Linked DNA regions of Homo sapiens: region 1 is linked to region 2. The links are contacts of gene promoters, found by promoter capture Hi-C in human tissues and cell types (Jung and others, 2019). All regions are on one chromosome and are shown on one strand. Each heading gives the region's core, a stretch centred on a gene start or on the middle of the fragment in contact. The rest is flanking DNA. Distances are from core to core; before and after follow the strand shown.

Evidence for each region. Contacts are between HindIII fragments. The study calls those that stand out against the background at their distance.
Region 1: a fragment that was not itself captured here is called in contact with the fragment with the promoter of ASIC1 in region 2 in 1 of the 25 tissues and cell types used here (IMR-90 fibroblasts).

What each region holds. Positions count from the first base shown.
Region 1 is chr12:49,830,830-49,834,646 of GRCh38, reverse strand. The region is part of intron 2 of BCDIN3D-AS1 (BCDIN3D antisense RNA 1); the gene reads right to left. Among named protein-coding and RNA genes, the nearest start is that of BCDIN3D-AS1, 4.2 kb to the right of the region's middle. RefSeq lists an enhancer at 2,547-2,841. The HindIII fragment of the contact is 4,299 bases long and covers 385-3,817 here.
Region 2 is chr12:50,054,744-50,058,889 of GRCh38, reverse strand. ASIC1 (acid sensing ion channel subunit 1) reads right to left here and starts at 1,294. Exons shown (of 12, transcript NM_001095.4): 1 at 974-1,294; 2 at 1-139. The coding sequence starts at 123. RefSeq lists silencers at 1,092-1,261, 1,332-1,491. The HindIII fragment of the contact is 14,217 bases long and covers 1-4,146 here.

The DNA.
Region 1 (3,817 bases), core at 1,285-3,784, 230 kb after region 2:
CTCCAGCCTGGACAGCAGAGTGAGACTCTATCTTAAAAAAAAAAAAAAAAAAAAAAAAGGAATGGCAGTATAAGCATATTTAGCCATATAGAAGAATCAGCCAAAAAGTTAAAATGGCTCATTGCTGGAGGTAAGGAATGCAGCAAATAATTGCTTCTGCATTATTTGATTATTAAACCATATGGACATATTACATTTTATAAAAACTAATCTTAAATGAATAATTTTTAAAATTAGCCAGTGTTTTCTAAAATAACTCTTACTGTACCACCCATCTATCTGCCTAATTTTTCCCTCACAGCATAGCCAAAATCTTAGAAAAGTTTTTTTGTTGTTGTTTGTGTTTTTGTTTTGTTTTTGAGACAGAGTCTCACTCTATCACCCAGGCTGGAGTGCAATGGCGCAATTGGCTCACTGCAACCTCCACCTCCCAGGCTCAAGCGATTCTCCTGCCTCAGCCTCCTGAGTAGCTGGGATTACAGGCACATGCCACCGCACACAGCTAATTTTTGTATTTTTAGTAGAGACGGGGTTTCACATGTAGGCCAGGCCGGTCTTGAATTCCTGACCTCAGGTGATCCACCCACCTCGTCCTCCCAAAGTGCTGGAATTACAGGCATGGGACACCGCGCCCAGCCAAAAAGTTTTAAACATCTCCTGTCTCCATTCCTTACTTTGTAAATTTTTCTCAATCCTTCAGAATCTGGTTTTGCCAGGTCAGGCGTGGTGGCTCACGCCTGTAATCCTAACACTTTGGAAGGCCAAGAGGGGAGGACTGCTTGAGCCCAGGAGTTCGAGAACAGCCTGGGCAATGGAGTGAGACCCCATCTCTATTTTAAATAAACAAATAAAGTCTGGTTTTATCAAAGTCTCCAATGACATGTGGCCAGAGTCAGTGGGGATGTCTCTGTCCTGATCCAACTTGACTCAGCAACATCGGGGCCAAAAAATCATCCCTTCCTATTCATGGGGAATTGGTTCCAGGACCCACAAGGATACAAAAATCAAAGGATGCTTAAGTCCCTTACATAAAATAGTATAGTATTTGCAAATGACCTAGGGGTATTCTCCTATATACTTTAAATCATCTCTAGATTACTTATAATATGTAATATCATGTAAATACTATGTAAATAGTTAACACTAAATTTTTAAAATTTTGTATTTTTATTGCTGTAGTTATTTTTTTTTCTGATCTAGTCTTCAGAGAGATGTAGTTTTTATTCTTTTATTTTTTCTGATCTGAGATTGATTGAGTGCATGGATGTGGAAGCCACCAATAAGAAGGACCGACTGTATTTGGTCTTTTTTTTTGGAAATCCCTTTCTTGGGTTCTGGTGACAGCATTCATTCAGTTTTCTTTCTCCCTCTCTGGAGACCCCCCTCTAATGTTGATGTTCCTTGGGGTTCTGTTCCTGCCTTTCTTTTCTCTCCTTGCATGATCTCCTCAACTCCATGACTTCAGTAACCACCAACGTTCTGAGGACTCACAAATCTCTTATCTATCATCCTGATTCCTCTCCTGAGCTTCAGAATTATTTATCCCACAGCCTACATCAGTGCTTCCCAACCTTTTCCATGTCAGTACACACATAGTAAATGATGGTGTTTTATATGCTGGATGATGCAATCTGGCATAACCAAGATTGCTCTCTGACTCAGGAAGCTTGTGCTGCCCTGAGAATTGTGAAGCCCATTATGCAGCACCACCGTAAACTCTTCCTGAGGCACACAGTTGGGAAGTTCTGACGAGTTGGAGAGATGTTTCTACTTGGATGCCCCCTGGGCATTTCTACGTCCTCTCCATCACCACTATCACTTTCCTAGTCCAGACCACATCATTTCTCGTTTTTCTCCTCAGGTACTACAAAAACCTTGCCTGGCCCCCCTGACTTCAGTCTTGCTCTCTCTATCCTCCTCACTGCAACCACATGGATCTAAAATGCAAATCTGATTATGCTACTCTCCTGCTTAAAACCATTCAAAGGCTACACTGCTCTTAGGATAAAGGATGATCTACCCACTGCTTACCTTTCCAGTCTCATTGTTTATCATACCCCACATGAACTCTGTACAAGTTATCTAATACTTTATATACAGAGCTTAGCATATAGATTCAATAAAAATGTTTGAATGATGAAAAGTGATGAAAAAGAGGTTCAAGGATATGAGTAGATTCATCATATCTGTGCCAGGTAGGAGGTTTCAAAGCACATATTGGCGATGCTGTCAGAATCCAAGGAACATGACTGTTCCGTACAGAATTATGTATATGTAGCAGTAAAGATCTATTCCTATATAGCAAGTGGACCAAAGATTATACAACAGCTCCTTTCTTCCTCTTACTGATCAGGAAAGACATTGAGATTGCACTCAGAGTCCATCCAACTGGAAAACAGCCAGATTACAAAAATGTTTTGAGGCCAGGCATGGTAGCTCACATCTATAATCCCAGCACTTTGGGAGGCCACAGTGGGAGGATCGCTTGATCTCAGGAGTTCAAGACCAGCCTGAGCAATACAGTGAGACCCTGTCTCTACAAAAAATGAAAAAATTAGCTGGGTATGGTGGTGCGCACTTGTAGTCCCAGCTGCTTGGTAGGGGCTCACTTGAGCCTAGAGGTCAAGGCTGCAGTGAGCTGTGATCACACCACTGCACTCCAATCTGGGTGACACAGCAAGACCCTATCTGGAAAAAAAAAAAGAAAAAATGTTTTGAGAGGCTAGTTACCAACCTGACTATCTCCTGTTGCCAGGAGTTCTAAACTAGAGTCAGCTTATCAACCAATGGCTAAATGGCTATAGTTTCAACCTCTGAGAATTGAAGATGCTCCAACATTAAATGAATGACCACACAGTATTAAAGCAGGGAACCCCATTCAAAGTACTGATGTTAGCAGTGACGAGGTGATTCTCTCTGAGAATCCATCTATCAGGCACCAGCACTACATGCATAGTTAGACAATACCACCAAACTGGTTTGTTACTAAACCAGTAGTAACAGCTTGCAGCTAACAGAGACCTAAGAGGCCTAGCCTGTTTTGTTACACAGACGACTCAAGTAAATAACAATATATGATTAGTGGTATATCATAAGAGTGAAGAACAAACTTTGGGACTTCTGTGTAATTTTTAATTTATGCAAATAATAGCACTAAGGAATGAAAGTGCCTTAAGCCTTATCAAAAGACTGAAAGGGATCTTGAAGCAATAGTAGCTACACTTCTTTCAACCCCTGTCAGTGAGGATGAAGGTTTGTGAAGCATAGAGAATCTGCCAAAATCTGAATGCTGAAATTATCAAGTGCACAATAGCCTTTAAGGAAGGAGAGAGCCAGGTACTTGCTCTGACAAATACAGATGTTCTGGCTGTTTATTAAACAAGAGTAAACATCTAAATGAAAAGTAAAATATTGGCTGGGCACAGAGGCTCACACCTGTAATCCCAGCACTTTGGGAGGCTGAAGTGGGCAGATCACTTGAGGTCAGGAGTTCAAGACCAGCCTGGACAACTTGGTGAAACCTCATTTCTACTAAAAATACAAAAATTAGCTGGGTGTGGTGGCGCACGCCTGTAATCTCAGCTACTTGGGAGGGTGAGGCAGGAGAATTGCTTGAGAATTGCAAGAGGCAAGAGAATTGCCTCTTGGAAGGCAGACCTTGCAGTGAGCCGAGATTGTGCTGCTACACTCCAGTCTGGGTGACAGAGCAAGACTCTGTCTCAAAAAAAAAAAAAAAAAAAAGGAAAGTAAATTATCATCTTGATGTTCTGTTTACTTCCAATAATTCAGTTATTTGGAAACATCCAAAAGTAGTTAG
Region 2 (4,146 bases), core at 45-2,544:
CAGAGACAGCCGCTCGTAGGAGAAGATGTGGGCCAGGCCGTGCAGTGTGGAGCTGCTGGCGAAGGCCTGGATGCTCACCGGCTGGACGCCACCCACCTCCTCCTCCTCGGCCTTCAGTTCCATCCTTGTTGAGGGGATCCTGGGGGAGGAGGGAGGGACAGTCTATCATTGTCCTGGGATGAAAGTACACATGGAGCCCCTCCACATGTGCCCATCCAGAATCCTCATCTCCAGAGGTCACCACTCCTCGGGCAGAAGACTTCCCTGCTTTGCAAGCCCAGAGGTGGCTGACCAAGGGACACATCCAGGGTTCCTCCAAATACAGAGGCACAGGGGGTCAGGTCAGGCCAAGAGAATGCTCCCCAGAGAAGCTTCCCAGGCCCGGGGAGACCCCAGATATAGTCATCCGAGGTTGAGGGGGAAGTCCTGATGCACCCATAGGCAGGCGCAGGAGTTCCCTCCAGATGTGGGGTCACTCTGGGACAAGAATATCCACCCCATCCTGGAGATGAAAACTCACCCAGATGGGCTGACCCCGGGGTAAGGAGCTCCTGTCCTGGTCACGGGTATTCCCTGGACGGGGCTGTGGTCCTAAGGGCTAAACTGGGGCCAGAAAACCCCCAGGGAGGTGGCTACATCTAGGGAGGGGCCCAGCCTGAGTCCTCACCTGCGGGTGTCTCCAGTTCTCACATAAGCGCAGGCTGTGTGTATGTTGGGAGTGGGGGGTGGCGGGCTGCCCGAGGTGGATGTATGGAGGGGGGGCGCGGTTCCCTATGACAGCGAGCTGTCCCCGCCCCGGACGCAGCCCCCCCCAGTCCAGCTTCTCGTCGCAGTCAGATCCCCAGCTCGGCCCCCGCCCCCCTCCCCAGCCACCGAGCCGCCCCAGCAGCAAGGGAAATCCAGAGGGAGGAGAGTCCCGGCTTCGGGGTACCGAGGAGCCTCGCGGCCAAAGGCAGGGGTATCGGAAACCCACCTGAGGGGGCTTCGGCAAGCCGGCAGCCGGCGGCGGGTCCTGGGGCGCTGGACCGGTGGCGGGCTCAGCGCCGAGTCGCGGAGGGGCTCATGGCCCGGGGCCGGAGCCCGCGGCCGCCGCGGCACGCCGCGCAGAGCCCTGCAGGGAGCGCCCCGCCCGGCCCCGCTCGGCTCCGATCTGTCCGCCCGCCCGCGCGCGCTGGCTCGCTGGCTCGCTCGCCTCGGCTCGGTCTGCCCGGGCTCGGCGCGGTGCGCGGTGCTCTCAGCCCTGGGATCTGCAGGGATCCATCGTCCGGCCGGGAGGCGGCGGGAGGGGAGGGGGAGGGGAGAGGGTGCGCGTGCGCGCCTACGAGTGTCTGCGAGGCTGTCTCTGGGCTGGTGTGCGCGCGGGGCCCCGGATCCGGGAGCGGGACCCAGGGCTCCCCGCGCCGCCTCGCCCCTCCTCGCGGCCGCTTTCGGCGGCGCTGCCTCTCTCCAGTCCCGGAGCCGTCTCCCTGCCTGCGAGGCCCTATGGCTTGTGTGTATGACTCTGTGTGTGGTGTGTGTGCGCGCGCGCGTGTGTGCGCGCAGGAGGGAGGGTGTCTGCCCCTAGCGTCCCTCTCCCCGCGCTGTCTCCTTCGGATCGATGCTCCTGCCTCTTGCTGCTGCTTCCTCTGGTGGCACACACGCGCGTACACACACACATACACACACACGCTCCGAGTCACACTTGACTAATTCAAGCACTTAGCCCATATGGAGACAGACACACATACCGACCAGAGTCACACCACACCATTCACAACCACACCCCCCCGCAACAGATGTCCACGTATCCCGGGGGCCTGACCCACATGGCAAGCACTCACCTGCTCTTATCCCTGCTCCCACCTGCATGTGACACATATACACGTGCACATATGTGAGCCAACACGCAGCCTTGACCACTCAGATCCCATCCTTGTAGCTTTGGGCTTGTGGGGGGCATGGTCGCAACCCCTTACTGCCAAATCTCCAAAGAAGGAGCAGAGAAAAGGAAGGAAAAATAGCCAGAGGTCAAGGGAATTTGGACAGAAGGAAGGAGGCAAAGGGAGTGAAGGGGACAGGGTGAGGAAGGGTTGGAACGGGGAGCTATGCTCAGGGATGGAGCAGAAGTCTCAGCACAGAACGCAGGCCTGGGGGCTGCTCCTGTGGCTCTCACCTTTCTCCTTCCCTGCCTCCCTCCTCTTCTCTGAGAGGCCTTGGGGAGGGGGGCCCTCCCTATCCAATTAACAGAGAAGGAGCAATCAAGGGGAAGTTGTTAATTTGCTGATGCTCATTAGGGGCTCTTAGCACAGAGGCTGTTGAGGTCTGATGGTGTCAGATGATGAGGAGGAGGGTGCGGGGGACCAGAGTTCTGTCTCTAGTGGCTCCTTCGCTCTACTTGCAGGCTGGTGCGGCTCGGGGAGAAGGATGGTGAGAGGTGTATTCCTAGGACATGGTGCCGGGCTTTAAGTTAGAAGAAAACCTGTAACGAGAAGGGGATGGCACATTGGAAAGAAGTTGGATGAGAAGTTGGGAGTAGTGGACATCTAGGAAACCAGAGAAGGGGTCTGGAGGTCCCTAGTGGGAGAGTGGACTTAAGATTGTGGAGGAGGGAGGTCGAGATCCATTTACTAGGGGACTGGACACGGAGCTGCCAAAAGGAAGGGAGGATCTTCCATTCAGGTCTTGGGGAGCTGTTCAGCGGTACCAGGCAGTGCTGGAGGGTTGCTATGCCCCCGGGCAGCCACTGGGTGGCAGCCCTCTCCCAGATACTTAGAATCAACTCGTGGGGGGCATTTGAGAGTGGGAAATCACCTGGGAGGGTCCCAGAGACCTGAGGAAGCATCAGGCAGAGTCTGATTCCTGAATTCCAAATATCCTCAGGGGGAGGGGAACACTATTTTGGAGCATCTGTAATTTCCCCACCTCCCCGCGGCTCGCAGGCTGACTGACACGTGGAGCCTCTTCAAATGGCTGCAATTGCTTCAGTCACCTGGGATGTTACTGAGGGAGCAGCGGGGGTGGAGGGAAGGTGATGAGGTGAGGTGGAGGCAGGCGAGGACTGATTGAGGCCAAGGAGCAGCCTCAGGAGGAGTCTGGGGGAAGACAGAAGGTATGAATCAGGAGAATCAGCTTCCAGACCTGGCCCTGCCATTCATTAGCATAGGCAGGCCCCTTGACCTCTCTGGACCTCGGTTTCCTCATCTGTAAGGCAGAGATAATATTTATTTCACAGGATTTTTCGAGGATTACATGAGCTAACGCATGGAAAGTGCTTAGTACATTGGCATGTACCTAGTAAATCCCAATAAGTAAATAACTATTATTAGTATTAGCATTTGGATCTAGTGGTAAAACCACCAGTGCAGCCAAACCAGGGCAGAATCTAAGGCACTGGTTCTTAACCCAGGCTGCACATTCGAATCACCTGGGGAGCTTTTAAAACTGCAATGCCAGCTGGGCGCGGTGGCTCACTCCTGTAATCCCAGCACTTTGGGAGGCAGAGGAGGGTGGATCGCCTGAGGTCAGGAGTTTGAGACCAACCTGGCCAACATGGTGAAACCCATCTCTACTAAAAATACAAAAAGTAGCTGGGCGTGGTGGCGGGCACCTGTAATCCCAGCTACTCGAGAGGCTGAGGCAGGAGAATCATTTGAACCTGGGAGGCGGAGGTTGCAGTGAGCCGAGATTGTGCTATTGCACTCTAGCCGGGGAGACAAGAGCGAAACTCCATTTCAAAAAATAAAAATAATAAGATAAAACTGCAATGCCAGCCAGGCGTGGTGGCTCACGCCTGCAATCCCAGCACTTTGGGAGGCCGAGGTGAGTGGATCACCTGAGGTCAGGAGACCAACCTGGCCAACATGGTGAAACCCTGCCTCCACAGAAAATACAAAAATTAGCCAGGCGTGGTGGCACGCACCTGTAATCCCAGCTACTCAGGAGGCTGAGGCAGAAGTGCTTGAACCCGGGAGACAGAGGTTGCAGTGATCGGAGATCGTGCCACTGCACTCTAGCCTGGGCAACAGAGCGAGACTCTGTCTCAGAAAAAAAAAAAAAAAACTGCAATGCCATGGCTCCACTTTAGACCAGTTAAATCAGAATCTCTGGGGCTGTGGCGCGATCTTGGCTCACTGCAAGCTCAGTCTCCTGGGTTCACGCCATTCTCCT